Linked DNA regions of Homo sapiens: all the other regions are linked to region 3. Evidence: promoter capture Hi-C in 16 types of primary human blood cells and fetal thymus (Javierre and others, 2016). All regions are on one chromosome and are shown on one strand. Each heading gives the region's core, a stretch centred on a gene start or on the middle of the fragment in contact. The rest is flanking DNA. Distances are from core to core; before and after follow the strand shown.

Region 1 (2,938 bases), core at 238-2,737, 750 kb after region 3:
TACATTCTTTTCCCCCTTAAGACACCAAAGTAATAGGCAGTTAGGATACTCTCCTTTTGCAAATATCTTGAGCAGAGGTATGCCCATCATCTTTGGGTGTAGACTCAGTAGGGTGGGAGAGACCCATAGAGTGGCCAAGCTGACCAAGGCTACCCCACACACAGGAACCAGCGGAGGTGGAAGAGCTGGTATGCAGCACTGTGACAGCCATGCTCCTGCTGACCAGGAGGCCCTGTGCTCTCCACCTCAGCAAGGACCCTTTGCTCCTTCTGATGGATGCCTCTCCTGCCTGCCACACTGTGGCACCCCATGATACCCAGAATGGTGATCTCACAGCCCCTGGGCACTGAGTTCTGCTCTAACTTCCTGTTCGTCTGCACACAGCAGTCACATTGAGGTTTAGTTTTCTCAAAACTAAAAAGGTGTATTGGCCAGAGGAGGCTAAATGGAACCCCAGAGCCTAGAGGGATGCCCAGGTAACCCTGCCCCTGCACAGGCCGGCCCCTCCTGCAAACAAGGAGGATACTACATCAGACTAGGATGTCTCGATAGCAGGACACAGGTCTGCCAGGCACACAGGGAGGGCTCTACCAAGAAAGAGGGCAACCAGGCTTTACAGGAGTCACGGGCCCTTAACCTGGGGTCTGTAGACAGGTTCAGGCCTCTGCTCTCCCTCCCCACTTAACACTTGTCTTCTCTGCTAAGCCATGAGCTCCAGGTTAGCAAGCACTGGGCCTGTTTTTCTTGCCAGTATATTCCCACTGTATCCTGGCTCCTGGTACCAGCTCCATAAATAATTGTTGACTGAGCACTAGCCTAATAGTTCACTTGCTTAAAACTGCTTATTAAGTCCCTTCTGCGTGGTAGGCATTGTATTAGGTGCTGGGGATACAACATAAATAAAACAGATATAGTCTCTGCCTTTATGCAGCTTACAAAGGTGTTTGTTCACACCAGAGAGCAGAACTTGATAACTAAACTGTAATAAAAGTTGAAGCAACATCAAGCAACATAGGCCAGTTGAAAAAGTAAATTACCCACTGACCCGCAGGTAATTAACTAGTAATTTTATTGCCATCCCCAAAATGAAGCAAGCAAGAGGGAATGACAATGGCAGGAAGATTGAATCTGGTTACACGTAAGGAAACAGGAGATTTGGGACAGATGCAAGTGCTCTCTTGTGTGGCTTTGGAGCAAGTCTGGCTAATACAGAGCCACCTGTGCAGGCTGGATGCACCCTGGTGCTCTAAACAGGAATGTCAAGATGAAAGGCTTTAAGACATCCTGTCCCCAGCCTCCCATCCACAAACATTCAGCAGTTATTTGAAAGGATCCCAGAGTGACAATCTCTGGTAGACGGAACAGAGGAGACAAAAAGCACACCATCCCTCCCACCCGCCTTGCCCGGCTCACCAGGATACGCCAAAGCAGCTTCACTCTGTAAACACCAGCCAAAGTCACAAGGTCCGGGAGATGTTGCCCTGTTTGTTCAGGAGACACTGGGCATGCGCACTCCCCCTTGGCTCCTCCCCTACTCGCCAACTTCACAGTGTGACTCTGGTCACAGGGATGGGACCAGATCAATAGACTTTGTCACTCCAATGCCCCAGCTTCTTTGGTGGCACCTAGGTCACCTGAGGGGTTTGTTTCAGGAAAGCACATTAATTTAGAAGGAGAATAATGTGGGAAGAGGCCGCAGTTAGAGAGATGTGTCTAAGCGCCTGGCCTGTGCTCTCTCCAAATTGCCCTCATTCCCAAGCAGGCCCCTGAGCCTGAGTTTGCCCTCCGAGGCTCAGTCAAAAATATTGATGTGCAGGCAGGTTACTGAGCTTTTGACAGGGTTTTTTTCACCAATGGCATCATTTGAAAAATGGCAAATATCCAAGTAGGAATGTGTTCCATTAGTGTGTTTCTGACATAAGAAAACTAACACCAGCTTGACAAGAATTTGAGAAATTTAATTTCTATCACTACAAAGCACCAGAATCCTGTTTGAGAGGGTGCTGATGGGTTTATGAGTGTCTTATCGAGTTCAAGTCAGTGTGAGAAATAGCGCCTGAGATTAAGGGAAACCTGTAATAGGAACTAAAACCCAGTTCTCCAACAACTGAAATGTTATGGCCTCCTGCTTTCAGGAAGGGTGTTTGTTAGCCTGCTTATGGTAAGCCCATTAATTCCCTGTGACTGCCTCTTCTCTCCAAGCTCCAAGACTCAGGGAGAAAGGTGAGGACGGGTGTTTGTGGCATCTCATGTCTGGAAAACCAAGGGTATGCTACTGCACTGGTTTGAAGGGCCTAGAGAGATAGGTCATGGCCTTGAGCCCACCTACTGTGTGCCATGCCTTGTGCTAGGCACCAGAGTGCCAGACAGCCCTGCCCAGAATCCCACTGTGGGACACGCAGCCTAGCTAGTGGTCCAGGAAGCTCTGTCTTGTGCCAACCAACCCACACTGACTTGGGCCATCACTGCAGTGTGACCCATTTGTTTTCATCCCAGGGGGATATCATGGGAAGCCCTGAGCTTTGAGAACCCCCCAACTCCCTTGCCCTCCTCAGATTCCCTACTTGCAGAGCAGCTCTCCAATGTCAGTTCTCATAGCAGGGCGTCAGTCCCTCTGTGGGCACAGACTTCTGCCCAGTAGTGCCAGACAAGCTCCCTGATGGGCTGCTCTGACCCCCAACCCAGCCCTCTCTTTCCAAAGACACCAGCCTCAGTGTGTAGACACATTCTCACCCCAGACACAGCGTCTGGCTGAGCCCTCTCTCACTGACCCCTGATCACACTCTGAGTGCTGGGCATATCACGTTTGGTCGTCCAGGGACCTTGGAAACCTTCCCACATAGTGGCTAATGAGCCCACAGATGGTCAGTCAACACAGGGGCATTGGAGCCACAGCCAGGAGCCAGAAGGACCACTCGTTGCCCCCTAGAGGGCTGCA
Region 2 (2,963 bases), core at 380-2,879, 520 kb before region 3:
GAGCCACAAGTCTGCACCCAGGCGGGGAGGAGGCGGGCGGGCGCCGCTCCGCAGGCGCAGGCGAGTGGGTGGGAAGAAGGGAGGGAGAGGGAGGAAGGAGGTGAGGCCGGGAAGATGCCACTGCCGGGGGCGGGGCGGGGCCGGGGATCCGGCAAAGGGACTGCAGCAGCGCTAGGTGGGGGCGGGGGCTGCAATGTCACTCATTTGAGAGTCAGGTGTGTGCGTCCCAAACGGGGTCCGCCACAAGCCGGCATCTTCCTGGTACCACCCATGGTGCAGGGCCCTAGGCAGAGGGCTGGGGACTGCGGATCCGTCCCTGAAGCGGGACGCGAACCGGCAGAGTTGGGAGAAGGTAAACAAGGGCCACGCCCCCTGCCGTCGCCCCGCGGGCGCGCACCCGCCGCTCCGGCCGCCGCCGGTACATTTCCACTCTCCCAGCGCCTCTCCCCAGCTGGACTACCGCGCGGCCCCGGAGGTGGAGGCTGCCCCCGACCCCAGTCCTCACCCCTGGCGCCGAGGCTCCGCACCCTCCACACTCACCTGGAAAGGGTGTCCCCCGCCCCTCCAAAAAAACTGTCTAATTTGTGCAGAGCCTCCAACCCCAGGAGCCGAGCATGCTGCCCCCGCGTGCAGCGCCCGCGTGCACCGGGCCGGGAGAGGGGGCGACAGGGCGGAGGCGGTGGCCCCCGGAAGGTGTCTGGGACCGGACCGGCTGCACGTGAGCCCAGCGCGAGGTCATGTGCACCGGCTCAGCCCGGTTCGGCGCCCGGACGTGCTGCGTATCAACAAAATGAAACTCGGGGAGACAGGAGGGCAGATAGCTCCAGGTTCTCGGAGCCCCCGCCCGGGCCGCTCGACCTCCCCACCGTACCCATCTCCCGCCGCAGCCCCTACGCCCGGCCGGAGCCCGCGGGGAAGTTGCAGCCCTGGCGCGCCCCCGCCCGCCCGCGCCCCCTCGCCGGCCCGGGGGCGCTTTGCCGCAGTCATTAATAAAGAAGGTCGCCAAGCTCACCCTTCCAAAAGTTGTTGTTGCATGCGCCCCTCTCAGCCTCCCCGCACTGTACTCTTTAAAACACGACTGACCAACATGCGCAATCTCTCTCCCCTGTGCTGTGCATCCCCCCCCTCTCCGCGCTGGCTTCCTAGAACAGGCAGCCAGCAGGAGAGAGAGGGAGCGAGCGAGCAAGAGAGAGCGAGGGAGCGAAGAGCGCTGGCAGATCTGTTGCAAAAACGCCAAATAACGTCGTGGAGATGCGCAGGGCCCATCCGCCGGGGGCTGGATCTTACCTTGCTCCGCGGTGCCCCCCTGACGGGCGCTGCCCTCGGCTACGCGCCGCTGCAGGGACCGGCGCGGGAAGGATGCTCCCGAAGCCGGGAGCTCCTGGGGCCGGCGCGGGAGGGCGGGGGGCGCGCATCCATCCGGGGTCGCGGCGAGGGAGGCGGCCGGGCCCGCGGCGTCCCAGGCCCCACGCCCCCCGCCGGGGACGGTCGGCCCGCAGGACCTAAGCCGGTGCCGCTAGGAGTGGGCGCAAAGTAACTCCATGGACGCTACTCACCCCCCCCAAAAAATAGCCTCCAACTGCGATGGCCGCGGTCGGCACCATTCACCAACCCCCTGTGTATGTTTCTGTTTCTTTTTAAACCAAGACTTCCTTGTGATCTCTTTAGAAAAAAAAAATGTGTTGGGGTGGGGGTGGGGTGGGGGCGGGCAGGAGGAGCGAGGGAGGGGGAGTAGCCACTTTTTTCTTATTCACTCGGATCTCCGCTCCCGACACCCCCGTCGCCGCCCCCCCAACCCCCCGCCCAGTTGTTTGGCTCCGGCGGGGAGTCCAGGTAGCGTTGCGGGCCCCGTGGGGGAAGGGTGCCCTCCCTCGCAGCCCCACCACCACGCCTGCTGGCACCCTGGGCCCGGACTCCCCATGGACTCTGGGGCGCCCCTAGCCCGCCCTGTCCCCAGGGCCGGGCCCGAGCGGCGGCTGCGCCCGTGCAAGTCCCATCAGGTCTGCTCACACTTCACACACTCACACACATACCCCGCCCCTCCACTCTTTCACTCACACTTTCTGCTCACACCCCGCCCCCTACGCGCCCCAGACCCGGGCGGCGCCCCCCGCAACCTTAAAAAAAAAAAAAAGCGAGCTTATACTTAAAAAAATCTTTTGGCGCCATATTAATGACGTACTTAAAATTTGCCATTTCTCCCTGCGTCAAAAAGACGTTTCTTTGCAAATAACAGCCTGGAGGCGACACTCGCGGAGGGAACGAGGTTTGCACTGAGCACCCCGCCCCCCGGGGCTCCAGCGCTGGAAGACCCTCGCCCTAGGCCCTGCTTCTGAATCGCTGGTTTTAAAATGCGAATCGAATAAATTGCGTGGCGTTTTGCAGCACCAGAAGTGAGCAGAAAGTGCTGGCAGGAGGGGAGTGGAGGGGCGAACGCGAGTCTTGGGGAGGGGGCGCGGCCCTCCTCCCCGCACCCACTCCAAATGGAAAACTAACATTCCGGGCGGGGGAACTTGAAATTGTAGGCGACCTCAAGAAAAGAGGGGCGGTCCGTAGAGAGGGTCCCCATTGGGCTCGTCGCCCCCTCCCCCCTCCCGGGTGCCTCCTGGCGCCTAGCGCTGCCCCGCATTTCCGGGGGGTGGAGAAGGCAGTGATGAGCGGGTGGGTGGGTGGTTGCACATCCTGGCCCCAGCAGGATTTTGCCCCGGGGCGACCCCTTCCTCCTTGCTCTTCCTTCCCATTACCCCGAAAGGGTTAAAAACCGAGGGGTAACTTCCAAAGGCTGGCACATGGCGAGGAAGCGGGGCGCCCCTCTCCCCACCCTTCGCCTCCTCGCCCCTCCTCCTCCGGCTCCACTTCCCGACTTGACCTTGTGGTGCACAAACAGTACGCTCGGATCCTCGCAGTTTCTGGAAGAAGAGCCTGCGCTCGCCAGGCGGGCGGGCTGTCGGGCTGCTAGCCGG
Region 3 (2,947 bases), core at 12-2,511:
TTCCCAGGCAACTCGTGCGCCTGGGAGGGTCATAGAATCCGTCCTACACTCCTCAGGATCTTGAAGGGGGCTCTTCCTTACATTCCCAGTCACCCCTCCCCCAGCCCCTACACAGGGCCTAGGTAACCTGTCTGCACCCCACTCCCACTCTGTATCAGCTGCCCTCTTCCTCAGCACCCTATCCCACTGGAGCACCTTTTCCAACTCCAGTCGCCACTTTTAATCTGCCGCCTTTTCCCAGCAGCCAGTCCTGATTGCCTCCTCCGTAGCCCCAGTTGCCCACTGCTTTAGATAGTGTCGCAGCTGGCTGTGAGGAGTGTCCTGATTCTGTAACCCGGCACCTCCTCCACAGGGCCCTAGACGCCTCAAGCCTTCCAGGACGTTTGTTGATCAAAGGCGAAGGATGTGTAGAATCTTCGTCCATCTACGAATTAATTCTCGAAACCTGCTTCGAGTGGGCCTCGCGCGTAACACAGGGGACACTCAGTGGTGAACGAGACCACTCGCTTAGGCCTAGCAGCGAGGTGACCGTTCACTCAACACACACTAACTGGGTCCCGCAGGACACGCCCCGGCTGGTCGCGGGGGTTACCCGGGGTGCCCTCAGTCGGCCGGCCGGCCATAACCGGCGTGATCTCCTCGCGCCGAGAGACCCAGCAGGGACCTCGCAAAACCCAATCCACGTTTTGTTTTATTTTGTCTTTTTGCCTCTCAAATGCATGGAAATTGGCTGCTAGTAGCTTTGCTACAGGAGAAAATCGCTAATCTGTAGTGCAAAATCGGCGCACAGGGGTTTTCTCTGAGATTGTCTAGACGCCGCGCGGGCGGGTCGGAGGCGCCAGACACATTGTATCCGGAGCGCGGAGCTCGGGAGCAACAGTCGCCGCCTCTACTCTGTATCTGCGCCGCCCCAGGCGCCCAGTGTCCGCGCTGGGCCTGGGACTGCCCTCGGGGGATGGGGCCCACGCGGGCTTTGATGGGGGGCCGGGGGCCACTTTGTCCACCCAGGCGAGGCTTGGGTCCAGCGCCGGCCACATCAACTCCCGGGGGATCTAGCAGCGCGGAGGCCAAGCAGGAGGCCCAGGAGCCCCGCGCGTCTTCCATTAGCGCAGGGACCTCCGGGCCACAGCTCAGAGAATCGGAAGGCCTCCTCCCCCTTCCCGAGCGCTGCCACTGGGGCCGAGGTTTCCAGCAAGAACCCGCGTGTCCCTGCGCACGCACACACGGTGCACACGTCAGTCCGGCGCCTCCCCGTGCCCCGACTCACGCAGGTCCTCCCGCGCGCCCGCAACACGCCCGCAGGCTCCTGTGTCTGCTGCCGGGGCAGCGGGGCCCGGAAGGGTAAGAACGCGGCTCGCTAGCGGGATGGGGACCCTGGCCCGGCCTGGACGCTGTCCCGGGCGGGGCCTGGGGGCGGAGCGCGCCGGGCCGGGCGCGCAGGAGGGGAGGCGGGTCCGCGCCGCCGCCGTCCGCGCCGCCCCGCCCTTGGCCCAGCCGCTCGCTCGGCTCCGCTCCCTGGCTCGGCTCCCTGCCTCCGCGTCGCAGCCCCCGCCGTAGCCGCCTCCGAGCCCGCCGCCACATCCTCTGAGGTAGGCGCAGCGGAAAAGGACCCCGGCTTCCTTGCGCCCTGGACGGCGGGGGCCAGGCCCCTGGGGAGCTGAGAGGGAGGCGCTGAGGGAGGAGCGGGCGAGGGGCCCCGGCAGCCCGGCCGCGGGGAGGGATCGCGAGCGGCCGGCGCGGGCCTGGCTGGTGAGCGGGCGGGCAGAGAAGGCCGCACAGGCGGGTGCCGAACAGGTCTGGGCTGGGGAGCGCGAGGCCGAGGGTCCAGAGACGCCTGCGGCTGGCGGCGAGAGGCGGCCCGGGCTTGCGGGCGGAAGTGCAAGGGCGGCCGCGTGGAGGCCCGGCGGGCCGCGCGTCTAGGTGACCTTCCCCGGCGGCGCCCTCTGGCCCTGGATCCCACCAGCGTGCATCCGGCGGGGACCCGTTCGCCGCCCACGCTCGCCGGACCAGGCCAGCGGGCGGGTGCCGGCCACGCTGCCGCCTCGGGGATGAGCTCACGTGACGACCGTGGCCCCGAGTCCCCAGGCCCACGCGCCCTGGCCGGCCCACGCCCGCAGAAGCTGGCGCCCGGCACCGCCCGCCTGTGCCAGAGCCTTCTAGAGCGGAACGCGCCGGCCGAGAGTCGACTTAGGCGGTAGAGGCCGGAGCTCGGGCCTGGGCTGAAGGTTTGGCCTCGGAAAAGGAGGCCCCACGGGGAAGGATGTGGCCTTCTTGGTCTTAGGAGTGATTACTGGTTCGGTCGTTCATTCATTCGCCAAATGCGGCGGTGCATTCTGGAAACTGTTTCGGAGCCTGACTTTGGATTAGAGGCCCGCAGTCTTAGTGGTTTGTACAAGGTCACACAGCTGGGAAGTCCCCATACCTTCGTTTTCTCATCTATAGGACGGGAGCAATTGTACCTCTCCTTCGATGAGTTTTGGGGAATAATAAAATGAATTAATTAGCATGAAACCTTTAGAACAGTGCCGGTGTGGAGAAGGGCTAAGTAGAAACCCTGACACCCTTGGGGCTTTTTGGGTGAATCCAGCCCATCCCCCGCAGACCATTTTGCTACACGTGGCGTTGTGGAAGGGGTTCAATAAATGTAGCTCCTGTTTTTAAACATTCTTTCACTATTATTGACAAGCATTTGTATACCAGGTATTGAGTAACTTTCAGCTTAATTTATGAAAAATCTTGTAAGTTTACAAATGGACATTGTCAAGCTGGAGCAGTAAGTTTGCATGTGGAGATCTTGAATGCAGGAGCAGACCCTGGTTTAGAGCCCGTTCCGCCCGGGGTCCCTGTCCCCTTGACTAGCCTCCCCTCTCCTGGGGAGATAGGGGAAAGGGCTCCTCTGTTGCCTAAACTTCTCCACTGAGGCAGGAGAAGGCCAGAGCAGACTACC
Region 4 (2,700 bases), core at 44-2,543, 730 kb before region 3:
TATAGAAAGTACCTCAGGTAAGATCATAAATAATGCTTTAAGAATAAATAGCCCGATAGAAAAATGTTTCTTCTATTGTTCTAGAAGAATTTGAAATGGTTTTCTTACCTCTCATTTGAACTGCCTAAAAGTTCAGAGCTATACACCTAAAGCCTTACAGAACAAAAGTCACAAAGATATAAGGAGCTTGCGACCAGTGACTAAAGGCCAATTACTAAAGGAAACACTGGAAACTTAGATAACACTAGGGCGCGCTAATTGCTCAATTATACTCACGTGAAATAAATTTTTTTTAAAGAAAATCATTGGACATGTGTTTGGGGGAGGAAGGAGGCGCTCTCCTTAGAAATGCAGCTCCAGACATCAATCACAACAATATCCCCTCATGAGGAGAGGAAACTCTCAGGTGTGCACTTCGCACTTGCTGGGTCTCTGAAGAATGCTCACTCTCACTTTTCCCACCTTTTCTAGCCGGCCCGTAGGTGACAGTGTTGACGGCACTGAACACAAACACTAGGATATGAGCACAAGAGTCCCTGATACACGTAGGATGAACTAGCGGGCAGTTCAGTAAAGACAGGCTGATGTGGGCGGACAGGAGTTACACAGCAAAAGGCAAAAGAAGGTAGACGCTAGAGAAGGCACTGTAAGGAAAAGCACTTGGAACCTTAAGAAGGAAAGCCATCTTCCTAAGGGGAGCAGTAGACATGACAGTCTGGGGATACAACGTGCGCCCTTCAAGAAAGGCGAGGAGTGGCTAAGGAAAAAAGGGGCTGTTCAACGTAACTGGGAAGAGGGAGTGAGAGCTCTGCAGGCAGGGTGGGGAAAATCTCACGGCGAGGCCCCGGGAAAATTGAGGGGAGCGACTAGGAACATCCTGGGGTTCAGGGATGAGAACTTGGGATATCACCGAAGGGGCGGGACAGAGAGGAAATCAAAGAGCAAGGCTTGGTCAAAAAGGTCAGAGGAGTGGAGGTGGGAGAGGGAAGAATGACCCTGAAGATTCAAGGTGATGGGCGGGAGACTGAGGGGAAATCGAGGCTCTTACCCGCGCCGCTCCCGGGCCTGTGAAAGCCCATGATCCGGTTGATGCGCTGTTCCGAGTTCATGAGCAGCTTTCTCCGACGCAGCTCCGCCCGACGCTGGGAAGCCGACAGACCTGAGCCCGCTGGGACCCCCGGCCTCTCCCCGCCGTCGGTAGCGACGGCCATCGACTCCATCCTCCCGTCCACAGTCTGGGAGGGGTGGCAGTGGCGGTGATGTTGGCCGCCGCTGCGAGGGCGATGACTAGAGGCCGGGCCGCAGGGCGCGCGTCCCCTTCCCACTATAGACCCGCCCCCGAGCGCGGTCCCGGAGCCTGTGAGCTAAGCACTCACGCACCGCCCCACGCGACCAAGCGCGAGGCTCTGGCCGCCATCTTGAGTGAGGGCAGCGCTGGACGCCCTCGTGCCTCCCCAACTCTTCTGGCCCTCACCCAACAGCCCCCTCTGCTGTTCACTCGGAGGTGAAGAAAACCAGCACCCAGGGCCGGGAGTGGTGGCTCACGCCTGTAATCCTAGCACTTTGGAAGGCCGAGGCGGGCGGATCACGAGGTCACGATTTCGAGAGTAGCCTGGCCAACATGGTGACCCCCTCCCCCCTCCCCCCACCCGTCTCTACTAAAAATACAAAAACTTAGCCGGGCGGGGTGGCGCGCGCCTGTAATCCCAGCTACTCGGGAGGCTGAGGCAGGAGAATCTCTTGGACCCAGGAGGCGGAGGTTGCAGTGAGCCGAGATCGCGCCACTGTTCTCCAGCCTGGGCTACAGAGCGAGACTCTGTCTCGAGAAAAAAAAAAAGAAAGAAAAGAAAACCGGGAGTGGGAAAGGGATGGCAGTAAGTAGGTCAGCCTAGATTTGGTGCCAGGAAGCAAAATGGAGGTTGCAGCGGCAGTCGCTTGTTTACAGACCCGCGGCCTCGCCTGTAGGCAATGGGAATACGTAACCCTGGGAGCCGCACTTAAAGGGAGCCTTACGCTGGGATTTGTTCTTGGTGCCTGTTCCTCATCCTTAACTTCTCTACGGCAAAGTATACGGCTGATGTGTTCCTAGGCTTTCCTCGCGTTTTGTGCGTTTTTATTCAAATTAGAATTTCCCATTGAAACCTTTCGTGCACATTCTATCTAAATTGCCAACACTCCCCATTCCCCTTCACCTTGTTTTTTCTCCTTGTCGTTCATGACCACCTCGCATGCTAAAGATGCTCCAGCCTGGGCGACAGAACGAGACTCCGTCTCAAAAAAAAAAAAGGAAAAGAAAAGAAAAAAACAAAAAGGCCGGGAGCGGTGGCTCACGTCTGTAATCCTAACTTTGGGAGGCCGAGGCAGGCGGATCACCTGAGGTCAGGAGTTCGAGACCAGCCTGGCCAATATGGCAAAACCCCGTCTCTACTAAAAATACAAAAATTAGCCTGACCTGGTGGCATGCACCTGTAATCCCAGCTACTTGGGAGGCTGAGGCAGGAGAATCGCTTGAACCTGGGAGGCAGAAATTGCAGTGAGCCGAGATCATGCCACTGCACTCCAGCCTGGGCGACAGAGGGAGACTCCGTCTCAAAAATACATATATAAAAGAAATAAATAAAATAAAATCAGAACAAATGACTGGGCGCGGTGGCTCATGCCTGTAATTCCAGCACTTTGTGAGGGCTGAGATGGGTGGAT

What was found. The method cuts DNA at HindIII sites, captures the fragments that hold promoters and counts their contacts. A CHiCAGO score of 5 or more calls a contact.
Region 1: the fragment with the promoter of FSTL4-AS1 here is called in contact with the fragment with the promoter of VDAC1 in region 3 in 8 of 17 cell types (endothelial precursors, total B cells, M0 macrophages and 5 more); the score reaches 11.8 in endothelial precursors.
Region 2: the fragment with the promoter of JADE2 here is called in contact with the fragment with the promoter of VDAC1 in region 3 in 5 of 17 cell types (total CD8 T cells, fetal thymus, non-activated CD4 T cells and 2 more); the score reaches 6.5 in total CD8 T cells.
Region 4: the fragment with the promoter of CAMLG here is called in contact with the fragment with the promoter of VDAC1 in region 3 in 2 of 17 cell types (activated CD4 T cells and non-activated CD4 T cells); the score reaches 7.7 in activated CD4 T cells.

The regions. Positions count from the first base shown.
Region 1 is chr5:133,254,994-133,257,931 of GRCh38, reverse strand. FSTL4-AS1 (FSTL4 antisense RNA 1) reads right to left here and starts at 1,487. Exons shown (of 2, transcript XR_007058939.1): 1 at 1,414-1,487. All of the region lies in intron 6 of FSTL4 (follistatin like 4), which reads left to right. The HindIII fragment of the contact is 11,288 bases long and covers 1-2,938 here.
Region 2 is chr5:134,524,336-134,527,298 of GRCh38, reverse strand. It overlaps JADE2 (jade family PHD finger 2), which reads right to left and starts at 1,629. Exons shown (of 12, transcript NM_001388185.1): 1 at 1,288-1,629. LOC124901070 (a long non-coding RNA gene) reads left to right here and starts at 1,697. Exons shown (of 3, transcript XR_007058942.1): 1 at 1,697-1,833; 2 at 2,216-2,393. RefSeq lists silencers at 40-1,159, 1,170-1,429, 1,460-1,539, 1,670-1,889, 1,910-1,959 and 1 more. The HindIII fragment of the contact is 6,085 bases long and covers 1-2,963 here.
Region 3 is chr5:134,003,289-134,006,235 of GRCh38, reverse strand. It overlaps VDAC1 (voltage dependent anion channel 1), which reads left to right and starts at 1,261. Exons shown (of 9, transcript NM_003374.3): 1 at 1,261-1,341. RefSeq lists enhancers at 418-487, 528-587, 658-777, 2,428-2,477, 2,488-2,537 and silencers at 948-997, 1,038-1,097, 1,158-2,197. The HindIII fragment of the contact is 5,979 bases long and covers 1-2,947 here.
Region 4 is chr5:134,737,141-134,739,840 of GRCh38, reverse strand. CAMLG (calcium modulating ligand) reads right to left here and starts at 1,293. Exons shown (of 4, transcript NM_001745.4): 1 at 1,049-1,293. The coding sequence starts at 1,220. RefSeq lists an enhancer at 1,656-1,705. The HindIII fragment of the contact is 13,475 bases long and covers 1-2,700 here.